Linked DNA regions of Homo sapiens: regions 1, 2 and 4 are each linked to region 3. Evidence: promoter capture Hi-C in human tissues and cell types (Jung and others, 2019). All regions are on one chromosome and are shown on one strand. Each heading gives the region's core, a stretch centred on a gene start or on the middle of the fragment in contact. The rest is flanking DNA. Distances are from core to core; before and after follow the strand shown. Region 1 has its middle 270 kb from the start of LINC02114. Region 2 has its middle 14 kb from the start of IRX2. Region 3 holds the start of IRX1 (iroquois homeobox 1). Region 4 has its middle 93 kb from the start of LINC02063.

Region 1 (2,700 bases), core at 49-2,548, 910 kb before region 3:
AACGATAATAAGAAAATGTTTGTAAAGATAAGCAAAAGAAGTGATGGCATAAATTTTGTGAATGATGCAAACTAGCAAAGCTCATTCAAGAAGAAATAAATTCCCAGAATAGTACAATTCTATTAAAGAAATTAAACTTATTTTAAAATATCATCACAAATAAAACTCTGGACCCACATATCTTTACTGGAAAATTCTATCAAACATTTCATGGAGACATAATATCAATTCTATAGAACCTCTTCCAGAAAATACAAGATAGAGAAAACTTCTCAAGTTATTTTATGAGTCCAATATTATACTTGTATTAAAACTAAATGAAAGTATTACAAGAAAAGAAAAATATAGTCTAATAACCCTCATAAATATGGTCACAAAAATATTTAACATAATAAAAGCAAATAAAATCAAGCAATAGATAAAAATGATAATGTCATAATTGAGTATGAGTCATATTTTCAACATTTGTAAATCAACCAATGTAATTTTGTATGTCAAGATGTTAGAGGAGAACACCTATATAATCACTTCCATGGAGGCAGAGAAAAATGGACAAAATCCAGTCATTCTTGATAAAAACTCAGGAAACTATCTGGAAAAGAACACTAACTTGACCTCACAAGGGTCACCTCCAAAAAAAAAAAAAAAAACACAGTTAATACCATATTAATGGTGAAAGACTGCATATTAATGCAGAAAGACCCCTAAGATTGAGAATAAAGCAAAGATGTTCTCTCCCACCACTCCTATTCAATATCTGAATTAATTTTCTATTGCTACTGCAAAAAAATTACCACAAACTTAGTGGCTTGAAACAACCTATATTTATTATTTTATATGTCTGTGGGTCTGAAGCTTGACATACTTCTTACTGAGCTGCAATCGAAGTGTCACCAGGCTGTGTTTCTCACTGAAAGTCATAGGAGATAATGCATTTGTTGCTCATTCCATTACTTGGCAGAATTCAGGTCAGGAGCCAGCTCCCGTTTTCTCACTGGCTGTGCACGGTGGGCCATTCCCACACTCAGGGGTTCCGATCCTTCTTTCTCCATGCTCAAAGCTATCCATGGTGAGCCAACTCCCCCTCACCTGCTGGATCTCTTCTCTTTGTTCATCCTTCTCACTTGTGTCATCCTACCTGAAAGGACTCCTCATTTGTAAGAACTCATGTGATTAAATTAGGTCCATGTGGATAATTCAGGATAATCTTATTGTCTCGAGGATAATCCTATTGTCCATATTCCTAAACACTCCAGCAAAGTCACTTTTACCACTCACATATTTACAAGTTCTGGGGATGAGGGTGTGAACATCTTTTTCTTTCTGCGGGTTGGAGCATTACTCTGCTTACCACAATATCATAGTGAAGGAACTCTAGTACAATGAAACTAGAAAAGAAAAACCATGAGAATTATAGAATATTGAAAGAAAGAAAGAAAATTGTCTGTACGTAGACTATATGGTTATTGGTGTCAGATGTTCAAAGCATGCACAAAAAAGCACTCCCTGATATAATACATGAGTTCAACAATATTGCTGCTTCAAAAGTCAATATACAAAAATTAATTGTATTTTTGTACATTAGCAATCCACAATTAGATAGTAATTTAAAACATATACAACTTGTAATAACACCAAAAAAACTTGAAATATTTATGTCTAGATCTAAGAAAATTTGTTTAAGATTTGTATGATGAAAATTATAAACTTTGGACAGAAAAGTCAAAGAAAGACTAAATGAAAAACAGAGTATTTATGAATTGGAAATCTGAATTTTGTAAAGATGTCAATTTCCCCAAATTACAAATTTGAAACAATTCTAACCAAATCCCTGCAGACATTTTTGTTGAAAGCAATAGCCAATTGTAAATTTTATATGGAGATCCAATATATCCATAACTGAAGTCTCCAAAATTACAAGATAAAACAATGAAACGAAAGCAAATTTTCCTTGCTGGAAGAAGGGACTTCCCAGACTTTACAAAATCTGAAGTCTTTCCCTTATTCTGCCACAGAGAAAGAGATGACCTCCTGTATATCTGCCATCTAAAAAAACATTTTTTGTGAAATGAGATTTAAAATTATGTTTTCAAAGTGCACCTTTTGAGGCCAGGAAAAATTGACCTAAAAATTGAGATCTATCTTGACAAAATTATTGTGTTTCACACACAAAAACTAAGACTTTTTTTTCTGAATGCTTACATAAACTACCAGATAAGAAATTTCAGCCAATCAAGAAATGATTATGGAAATTATATCTTCAAAAATCATCGGTCAACCTAGAAAGTATGAAGCAAAGACTACAATCACTAATCAGGGAGGCTGAACAGAATGAGAGGTTTCACAAGGAGGCTACTAGCAAAGATTGCAAGAAAAGAGAAAATGATATAATGTGATGCATAGTATACACTTTAAGAATATCATAAAGATATTTAACGCAATAATGATAATGCCGAAATAGGTAACATTATTGACTAAAATTGATGCTGATAGAGGACAATGAAGAGAAAGGAAAATGGTAACTTTATCACTGCTTTAAGAGGGGGACTATTAGAAACTGCCTAAGTAATGAAAGGATGAAAGGTACCATATAAGGTTACAATTATAAATAATCACTACAACAACAACAGAAATACAAGCTTTCTTAAATGTCAGAAAACTATGCACAAAAAATGCACTAAGAAAACTGAACACAAAGAT
Region 2 (2,700 bases), core at 90-2,589, 860 kb after region 3:
CTGGCGGCCCTGACTGGGGCTCTGGGAGCGGGTAGTTCAGGTGGAGGGTCTCTGGAGCCACACACCTGGCCTCCCGCAGGTGGGGAGACGGTCCCGGAGGCACAGGAGGAGGGAGGCCCAAGCGTGCGGCTGGGGGTGGTGAGGGTCAGATGGGGAGGGGTGGGTGCTTTGTAACCTTTGGGGTCCTGGGCCCTGTGATGAGCCCCATCCTTTCTGCCATTGGACTCGGGGTCACTGTACAGCCCTGGTGGAGAGAGGGTGAAGGCTTCCCTGGGAACAGCCCACTGAGCCCCAGAGGCCAGGGGACCAAAGAGGCGGCCGGGAGGACAACTCGGCCCAAGCGGGGAACAGGGGGGCGAATCAGGCTCCTTGGTACCCAGGATGACGTTAGTTTATTTAAATAGGAGGCCATGGCCCGTCCAGGTTTATTCTCCCTGGCTCTCAAGCAATGGAAAAACAATTTGTTTTATAATGCTAATGTAATACTCAACTCCTCAAATAAAAGTGCCCTTCATGATAATGGGCCCAGATATAAACAGAAGCGGCTGAGAGGGCCCAACCTGCTTCTTCCAGGCAGGCCTGTGACCGGGAGGGGGCTGAGTCCAAGCCCAGAGGAGAGAGACAGTTTGTTTAAAATTTCTATGGAGCTGGACTGTTTTATAAAGGAAGGGGCTGAGTTAAGGCATGCTTTGAAAGAAGACAAACAGACTTTGCAGGAGCTAGACCCTCAAATGAGTTATATTTTAAACAATTTACTGACTTTATGATCTTTAAGCAGAAGCAAATAACACATTCAGGTGCACAGCCGATGCACCCCAACTTTCCAGTGCAAACAAGGCCGGGAGGAGTGGGAGGAGACCTGTCAGCAGGCAGGACAGGTGGGCTGTGGGCTGCAGGGGGTGGGCAGGGGGACACCCCCAGGCCAGGGGTTCCCTTAACCTGGCTGTTACTTTGACGTCAGGAAAAGCCCCTGGTGAAAAACTTCTCTGGTGGGTGAAGATCAGTGATGGCCCGAAATCATCTCGGTGTTCTGAAGCCTAGGAAAGCTGTTGGCCTGGCACCGGGGCCACTTCCTACAAGAACTGGCAGCCTCAGGCGGAATGTTTGAGGGCAGGTAATGACTACTACGGGTAGACATGAGATGGAGTACGATGGGTGAACACCCAGGCATGGTCCACAGCCCTGTCTTTGGACAGTTGCCCTACAGGACAGGCAGGAGATGGGGCTGGGGAAGTGGGTGCTCACCATCGACTCCTGTGATCTTGGTGGAGAGGACAGCACTCGAGACCTGCTAGTGGGGCTCATCTGAGTGGGCCAAATGACTGCCCCTGAAAGCCCATCTCTTCCATGTGCCACCGGGCCCCACGTAGCAGGCTCTGCAGAGGGCTTCTTGTTAGTTAGATGAAGCCAAGGAAGGCCAGCGGGCACAGAAACATGTCCAGGGTCTGCCTGTCTCCGCCCTCTGTCCTCGCCAGTCCTGTCACTTCTCTGAACCTCTGAACACTGAGCTCTTTCCTTTCTCAGCTGACCTGAACAGACTGATCCGTCTGCCTGGAAGATTCTTCTAACTCAGCTGGAGAATGGCTGCTCAATAATGCAGGTATTTTTCTGTATTTACTTGTCACTTGCTACCCACGTGGATGTTAAAGTGACCAGGAGCCACACCTGAGGCCTCTCGTGAATGAACGGAGCTACTTCTGTGTCAGGTTTTGGGGTTCCACAGGCATGAGCAGGCCATGGGTCAGGCTGGTTCTGGCATGGCTGTGGTCGGCCCACTTCCACAGACCACCACCGCATGCTGTCCATCTATCCACCGGAGATGGCCGCAGTGGGGACCAGGACAAGAGGACAAATGAGGCCCTGTGTGTCTGAACACTGACCACTTGTAAATCAGCTGCTAGATACAATGTGCTTATACACAACATGCTTATCCTCCTGCCTTGGAAAATACGTTTTCAAATGAGAGAAATCACAAAATATGTGCAAAGCATGATTTGCATGGAAGTCATCAACATATCAAAAGAGGACCAGATTTAATGATTCTTATGTACGTCTGGCATTCTATTCTGAGGGGGTAGCAATGTTAGGATTTGCAAAAAAATACAGACAGAATAATTCATAAAGTACATATTTATCCTATGAAATATTTTGCCTTTAAAAAAATAGAATCACTCCATATCCTGTAGCAATCAAGATTTTCACATAATTTGTGTTTTGACAATAGTGGTTCAAAAATTAAAAAGTGATCCTTCTCAAAGCATACATTTAAATATATCTTCATCAAAAATTGATAGCAAATCAAATGTAAGAAATAAAAATAACTAAATTATTTGTGATTTTCCAAAAAAATTTTTCTTCTAGCATATTCAAAGCTTTCTATTAAAATTTAAAGACACAATGCACACTATAACTTATCCATAAAAAGTTTTCATTAAAAAGTTTCATTATGAAGCTGAATTGTTTTAATTCTAAAAATTTAATCCCTGAGATGAAAGAGGTCTCAGAAATCGCATCAGAAGGGGCCAGGGTAGTGGGAAGGGCATACATTTGGGAGATCCCAGGTGTGAACTCAGGGCTGGAGTGCTTCACCAGGGCCCAGTGGAGGGCAAGGCTGCAGGCATCCCTGCTGAACCTCATCCTCCCACCTGCACACATCACCTACCCGAGGGCTGTTGGGAAGAGTAAATGCCAAGGTGTGAC
Region 3 (2,765 bases), core at 12-2,511:
TCTGTGCAAATGAAATGAAAACTTGGGCAACTTACAAAAGTAAAATCAAACACCGTTTCAGACACCAGCACATTACTGCAACTTAATTTTTGTTTAATCTCAAATTCGCACTCACGCCGTGGAGAGACCTCTCCATCCCTTTGGACCTCTATTGTTAAGATTATTTTGATTGACTCTACCAGGCTTAGAAGGGGTCTGTCTGGCAAACTCGGATACAACTATCTCGGAGCTGCTAAAGAGGGAGAAAACCAAGTTTTCCAGACTCGGTTCGAAAACTAAAGAGGCCGCGCGAGTGGAACCCGCGGCCAGGAAGGGAAGTCCTGCTACGCTACGCCGGGCCGACCTGCAGGAACCCCGTGGGCCTGCCCGGGCGCCCTGGCCGAGCCAGGCGAGTTTGCCCCCGACCTCCAGCGCGGGCACCGCTCCACGGGCCTGCTTCTGCGGCCTCTCTGAATTCACTCGCTACCCGCTCCCTGGCCCGGGCCTTCCGCTTTCCCAGGCCGAGATGGCCCAGCCGTCACCCGCCCGGCCTCCCAGCCCTCTTGCGTCCCCGGGGGCCGCGGCCTCGGCCACCGGGAACCTGCCCCCGGACCTTTCTAGTTCCTCTTCCGGACCAGGTCCACCCGTAGTCTCTCCCTCCCGGGCGACCCGCCACCCTTGCCCTGGCGCGGGTGAGACAGAGGAGAAGCGGGGGAGGCCGGGCGCACTCACCATCTGCGAGAAGAGGCTGAGATCCGCGGCGTAGGGCAGGAAGGCGCTGTAGTTGGGCGCGCCCGCGTACGGCCCCGCCGCCGCGTACATGCCCAGCACCGAGGTGACTGCAGCCGCGCCTGCCCCGCCGCCCAGCTCCGCGGCCCCCGGTCGGCCCGACGAGGCGGCGGCAGCCGCCGCAGCGGCCGCGGCCAGCACCCCCGGGCGCTCGCCGCCGTAGGCGCCCGGCCCCGCGGCGCTCAGGTACTGCGGGTAGCCCAGCTGCGGGAAGGACATGTCCGCGGACTCGGCGACCGCCGCAGCGGGCGAGTATTAAAGGCGCGGGGAGGGAGGCGGAGGCCGGCCGGAGGGGGTTGCAGGGGGCGCCGCGAGGGGTCTAGGGAGGAGCGGGCGGCCGGCCGGGCGCGCTCGGGCGGGCCGGGAGATGGAGGCCGGTCGCGGCTCCTCTGCCCGGTGCTCGCAGGCGCCCGGCTCCCGGCTGCGCCCGGATCCGCAATCGCGCGCCGACTGCGGCGGCCGCCCTCCGCTCGGCGGCGGGGCTTTCAGACACAATTTGAAGTTGATGCTTTGATTGGCATCCCCTTGAGCGCAGGCCCCGCCCCTGGCTCCCCTCCCGCCCCCTCCCTGCCTCCCGCCCGCCCTCGCCGGCCGCTCCCGCCCCTCCCGCGAGCACGTGGTGCCCCGTGCCGGCCCGGCCAGCTACTCTCGCGGTGGGCGCGCGCGTCGGGGCGGCGGGGTGTGGGCCCGGAGGCCGTGGGCTCCTTCCCGACCAGCCCCCGCAGCTGTCTGACAACCTGTCGACACGGGTTTACAGCTGTCTGACACCGGGTTTGCAGTTTCGCGGCCGAGGTGTGTCCCCTTTTTAACAAAAACAACTTGGCGCCTGCTTTTCTACTGTTTGGGCAGCGGGGAAGGGGCCGGCGGCCTGGACGCTGGTGACAGCGAGGGGGGAGCGGCCTCTCCCCCGAGTCCCGCGCGGCCGGGGCCTCCAGGGGACATCTTTGGCAGAAGTGCACCCGGACGCTCTCCGCGAGCCACTGAACCGGCGTGGCGTGACACCCCCGACTCCAGATGCGGGTTCCCGTGGGCCCCTACTGGGTAGTAACCGATCGTCTGCCAATGACCGGCCTCGCCGCCCTTGGGGAAGCGGGGAGCGGCCGAGCTCTGCGGGCTCTTTCAATTGTGCAAACTTTGAGCGAGGGCAAATCCCGCGGAGAAGTCGCCAGCTCGGGGGAAGCAGGCGCAGTCGGCGCCGCGGGTTCTCGGAGGGAGGGGTGGGGGAGACGCGGGGGGAGGGGCTTTCTCTTCACCCAGAAAGCCCCCTGGCAGCCGGAGGGAAACATCCCCCGCGCCCCCGCGAAGGGGGAAGACGGTGTGGCCTGGACGCCCGGTTTGTCCACCAGGTGTGCAGAGGCAGACAGGAAACTTGTGTGGAACGCGCGAACCCGAGTCGGCGCCGCCGCCAGACCGGCAACGGAGCGGCCTCTTGGGTCCAAGTCCCGCGTCCCTCTTCTCCCTGCGTCTCCCCTCTCCATCCTCAGCCTCGTCGGGCTACAGGACGCGGCCAGGCGCGGCGCACTTGAGATGGGCTCCGTTTCGCCGCGGCCCTGGCCGTGCGGCTCCCGGGAGAAGATGCCAAGTGCACGGGCCTCCTCGCCTCCCTGAGCCTGGGAAGGCGCTGGCAGGCCACTTCTGCGCCTCGTGGCTGGAGAGCTCCGGACGGTGCCGTGGGGAACCGGGTACCAGTCCCGGCTCCCGGGGCCACTTTGCGAACCACCTCCTACGCAGAGACGGGGCCGGGAGTTCACCCCGCTGCGGCTCTCCAGCACACCGGACTCCGCGGGAATTTCAGCAGCGCACTCTGGCGTCTTCTCGGCTTTAGGCCGGGTTGGGGCTACGGGATGAAGGCGGCCATCGGGCCAGAGTCGGCATGCTGTTCTGCTGGTGGTTTGAGCCACCCGTATCCTGGACACCGGCCAGGCGGTCCCTTCACCCCCTGCCTCGCTTCCCTCTCTTCACGGAGCCTCGAGGCCCAGGGACTTCAGCAGCATCAG
Region 4 (2,782 bases), core at 187-2,686, 630 kb before region 3:
GGGACAGAGTGGGGAGGTCAGAGCAGAAGGAGGTGGGGGAGCAGAGGAAGGGCAGGGTTGGCGGGGGGTGCGAGGAAGCAGTGGAAACAGACCTCCCAAGTGGACAAGTGGGATCACATTGTCACCTCCCCTAAGGAATGCAGATGAGTCTGCCCTCTAGCAAGGCATCTTCACCAACAGAGGGACCTGAGTGTGTCCAGGGACAGGCCAGTGGAGAGCACTTCCTTCCGTGTCCTGCGCCCTCTGTACCAGGAGTCACTGAGTAGGAGGTGCCAATGGTTGATTTTCTCCTCTTTGGTCCCTACATGCCCATCCCAGCCACCCGGGCTCCCAGGTTCCTGTTCCTGATGACAGCATCCAGAGAGAAGTGACCTGGGAATTGTAGCCTTGAGAAAGGACAAGAGGCTGCTGCTGTGACCATGGCTGGTCCTGGTGTGTGGCCACCCATCCCCTTTCACAGTCTTGTCCACTCAAGGAACCCAGGTTCCCTGCCACCCATGTCTGGCCTTGTGCCGAGAGCTTTTCTGATGACCCTGTGCAGCCTGCTTCTTCCTGTCCCAGGGCACAGCTGATTCAGGGGGCACACGTCCTGGGTGACAGTGTTTCTAGCTTTCCGGACTCTGTCCTGCTCCCTTCTGTTACAACAACCATTGCAGATCCTCACTTCATGTCCACTCGCTTTGCCTCATAAGTGGCTTTTCACCAGGACTAACTAGGTCATGTGAGAATGCAGTAACGGCCCACTTCTTCTGAAGGTGCACTTAATGCCAGTCATTCTGTTCCGCACAGTTTGACCATAGCAGAGCCACTCCATTGAGCTCATTTCCAAGAGATAACTAACTTAGGCACGTGTATTTGGCTTAGGAGGCCAGGGGATTTAGACTTCTGGTAATGTTGGTACCATGCTTTTAATTCTTTATTTGAAAGTGATATCAAAGTGCTTTGCATACCATTAATTTGAGTTTAATACGTACATTATCTTAATATTTTAGATGTTTAAAATATGCTCCATGTTGGTACTCTCTCAATGAATTTTCTTTAAGTGTGGTGGCTGCAGAGAGAGTCTTCAGCACACACATGCCGTCATGATCTTGTTAGTGGTGAGGAATAGTGTCTGACATCTGCTGAATTCTCACCACTTGCTGGACACCATGATCAGTGCCCTCTGTCATGAGCTTATCCTCCCCAAACCGTGAAAGGTCAAGAGTTACATGCTGCTTGGAGCATTAGAGTGAGTTCTTTTTTTTTTTTTTTTTTTGAGATGGAGTCTCCGTCACCCAGGCTGGAGTGCAGTGGCGCAAACTTGGCTCACTGCAAGCTCCACCTCCCAGGTTCACGCCATTCTCCTGCCTCAGCCTCCTGAGTAGCTGGGACTACAGGCGCCCGCCACCACGCCTGGCTATTTTTTTTGTATTTTTAGTAGAGACGGGGTTTCACTGTGTTAGCCAGGATGGTCTCGATCTCCTGACCTTGTGATCCACCAGCCTTGGCCTCCCAAAGTGCTGGGATTACAGGCGTGAGCCACCGCGCCCAGCCTAGAGTGAGTTCTGAAGTCAGGAGCACGGGACTCCAGACTGGGGAACTCCAGCTCAGATTCTGCCCCTGTCTCTGTGGAAAGGGATGCAGGTGGTCGTTATTCACCTGTCTCCCAGGAAGACCGGAAACCACAGAGAGCCCATGGGTTCATACGCAACCAGGCATCCAGGATGGTTCTCACTCACTGGTTTGTTATTTCTAGGACACAAGCCCCCGGGCCAGGCACTGTAGTCATAAAGACTTTTTAGTCAAATGTCTCGTCCGAGGGGACATGCATTTTAGCTGTGCATCAGAGATCAGCTCCTCTATAAAGTGGGGTAACCTGGGGTTAAGGGCTTGAATTTTAAGCTAGGAGGACTTCTGAGCTATATGCTCTTCAGCAAATGACTTTACTTCCTGATATAGTTTGGATGTCCCTCCAAATCTCATGCTGAGATGTAATCCCCAGTGTTGGTGGTGGGGCCTGGCTGGAGACTCTGGGGGATGGGGGCAGATCCCTCATGGCTTGGTGAAATAGGAACATGAAAGACAAATAGACGTAGTTGCTGGTGAGAAATACATTAAGGGTATTCTTGAGTTTTTACTGAGTTCCGCTAGGTTTCTACCTAAGCTCAGAGACTGAGTCTGCATGTAGAAACGTACATAACCTGAGACCAGCGGTGGTTGTCCTTGTGCCAAGACAGATGAAGAAATGCATTTTCTGCTCAAATTTTATAAGTGTCTGTGTTCTTAAAGGCTATAATCTGCATGGGGAGAAGGTCCCATTACCACTTTTTCTCACTCTTTCTAGAGTAGGAGACAGTGATGTTCAGGGAAAGACACTGAGCTGGAGGTTACTGAAATCAGGACTCAGAGGCAGGCAGGTCTCAGCTGGAGGCAAGACTGAAAGCTTTAGCCGTGTCTCCAATGTGCATGTGATTAAATGTTATTTCATCAATCATCTGACATTTGATATAAAAATACAGAACAGAAAACAAAAATAAAGTGTATTTCTGGAGGCTGTTTGTGATCTCAAAGTCCTTTGATGCTGTAAAGTTCTGATTCCTTACAGTTTTCTGCATATTAACTCTGCACAACCTCTAGACCTTCATTCCTGGGAGGCGAAGGGTTTCTATAGAATGAGCAACGGGCTCCAGCACTGAGAGCCGCCACCTCTGCCCACCTACTCCACTGGGTGGAAGTCCACGAATGGACCTAGGGTGTTTTGTTTACCTGGAATGTCTTTCTTAGGAAGATGACTCTTTCC

Evidence for each region. The method cuts DNA at HindIII sites, captures the fragments that hold promoters and counts their contacts. A contact is called where the count stands out against the background at its distance.
Region 1: a fragment that was not itself captured here is called in contact with the fragment with the promoter of IRX1 in region 3 in 1 of the 25 tissues and cell types used here (lymphoblastoid cells).
Region 2: a contact is called between a fragment that was not itself captured here and the fragment with the promoter of IRX1 in region 3, in 1 of the 25 tissues and cell types used here (dorsolateral prefrontal cortex).
Region 4: a fragment that was not itself captured here is called in contact with the fragment with the promoter of IRX1 in region 3 in 2 of the 25 tissues and cell types used here (dorsolateral prefrontal cortex and mesendoderm cells).

The regions. Positions count from the first base shown.
Region 1 is chr5:4,505,556-4,508,255 of GRCh38, reverse strand. No RefSeq gene overlaps it. Among named protein-coding and RNA genes, the nearest start is that of LINC02114, 270 kb to the left of the region's middle. The HindIII fragment of the contact is 3,147 bases long and covers 1-2,700 here.
Region 2 is chr5:2,736,146-2,738,845 of GRCh38, reverse strand. It overlaps a transcript of IRX2 not described here. Among named protein-coding and RNA genes, the nearest start is that of IRX2, 14 kb to the left of the region's middle. The HindIII fragment of the contact is 5,452 bases long and covers 1-2,700 here.
Region 3 is chr5:3,594,328-3,597,092 of GRCh38, reverse strand. IRX1 (iroquois homeobox 1) reads right to left here and starts at 1,261. Exons shown (of 4, transcript NM_024337.4): 1 at 712-1,261. The coding sequence starts at 987. RefSeq lists a silencer at 1,264-1,558. The HindIII fragment of the contact is 23,247 bases long and covers 1-2,765 here.
Region 4 is chr5:4,226,867-4,229,648 of GRCh38, reverse strand. No RefSeq gene overlaps it. Among named protein-coding and RNA genes, the nearest start is that of LINC02063, 93 kb to the right of the region's middle. The HindIII fragment of the contact is 4,440 bases long and covers 1-2,782 here.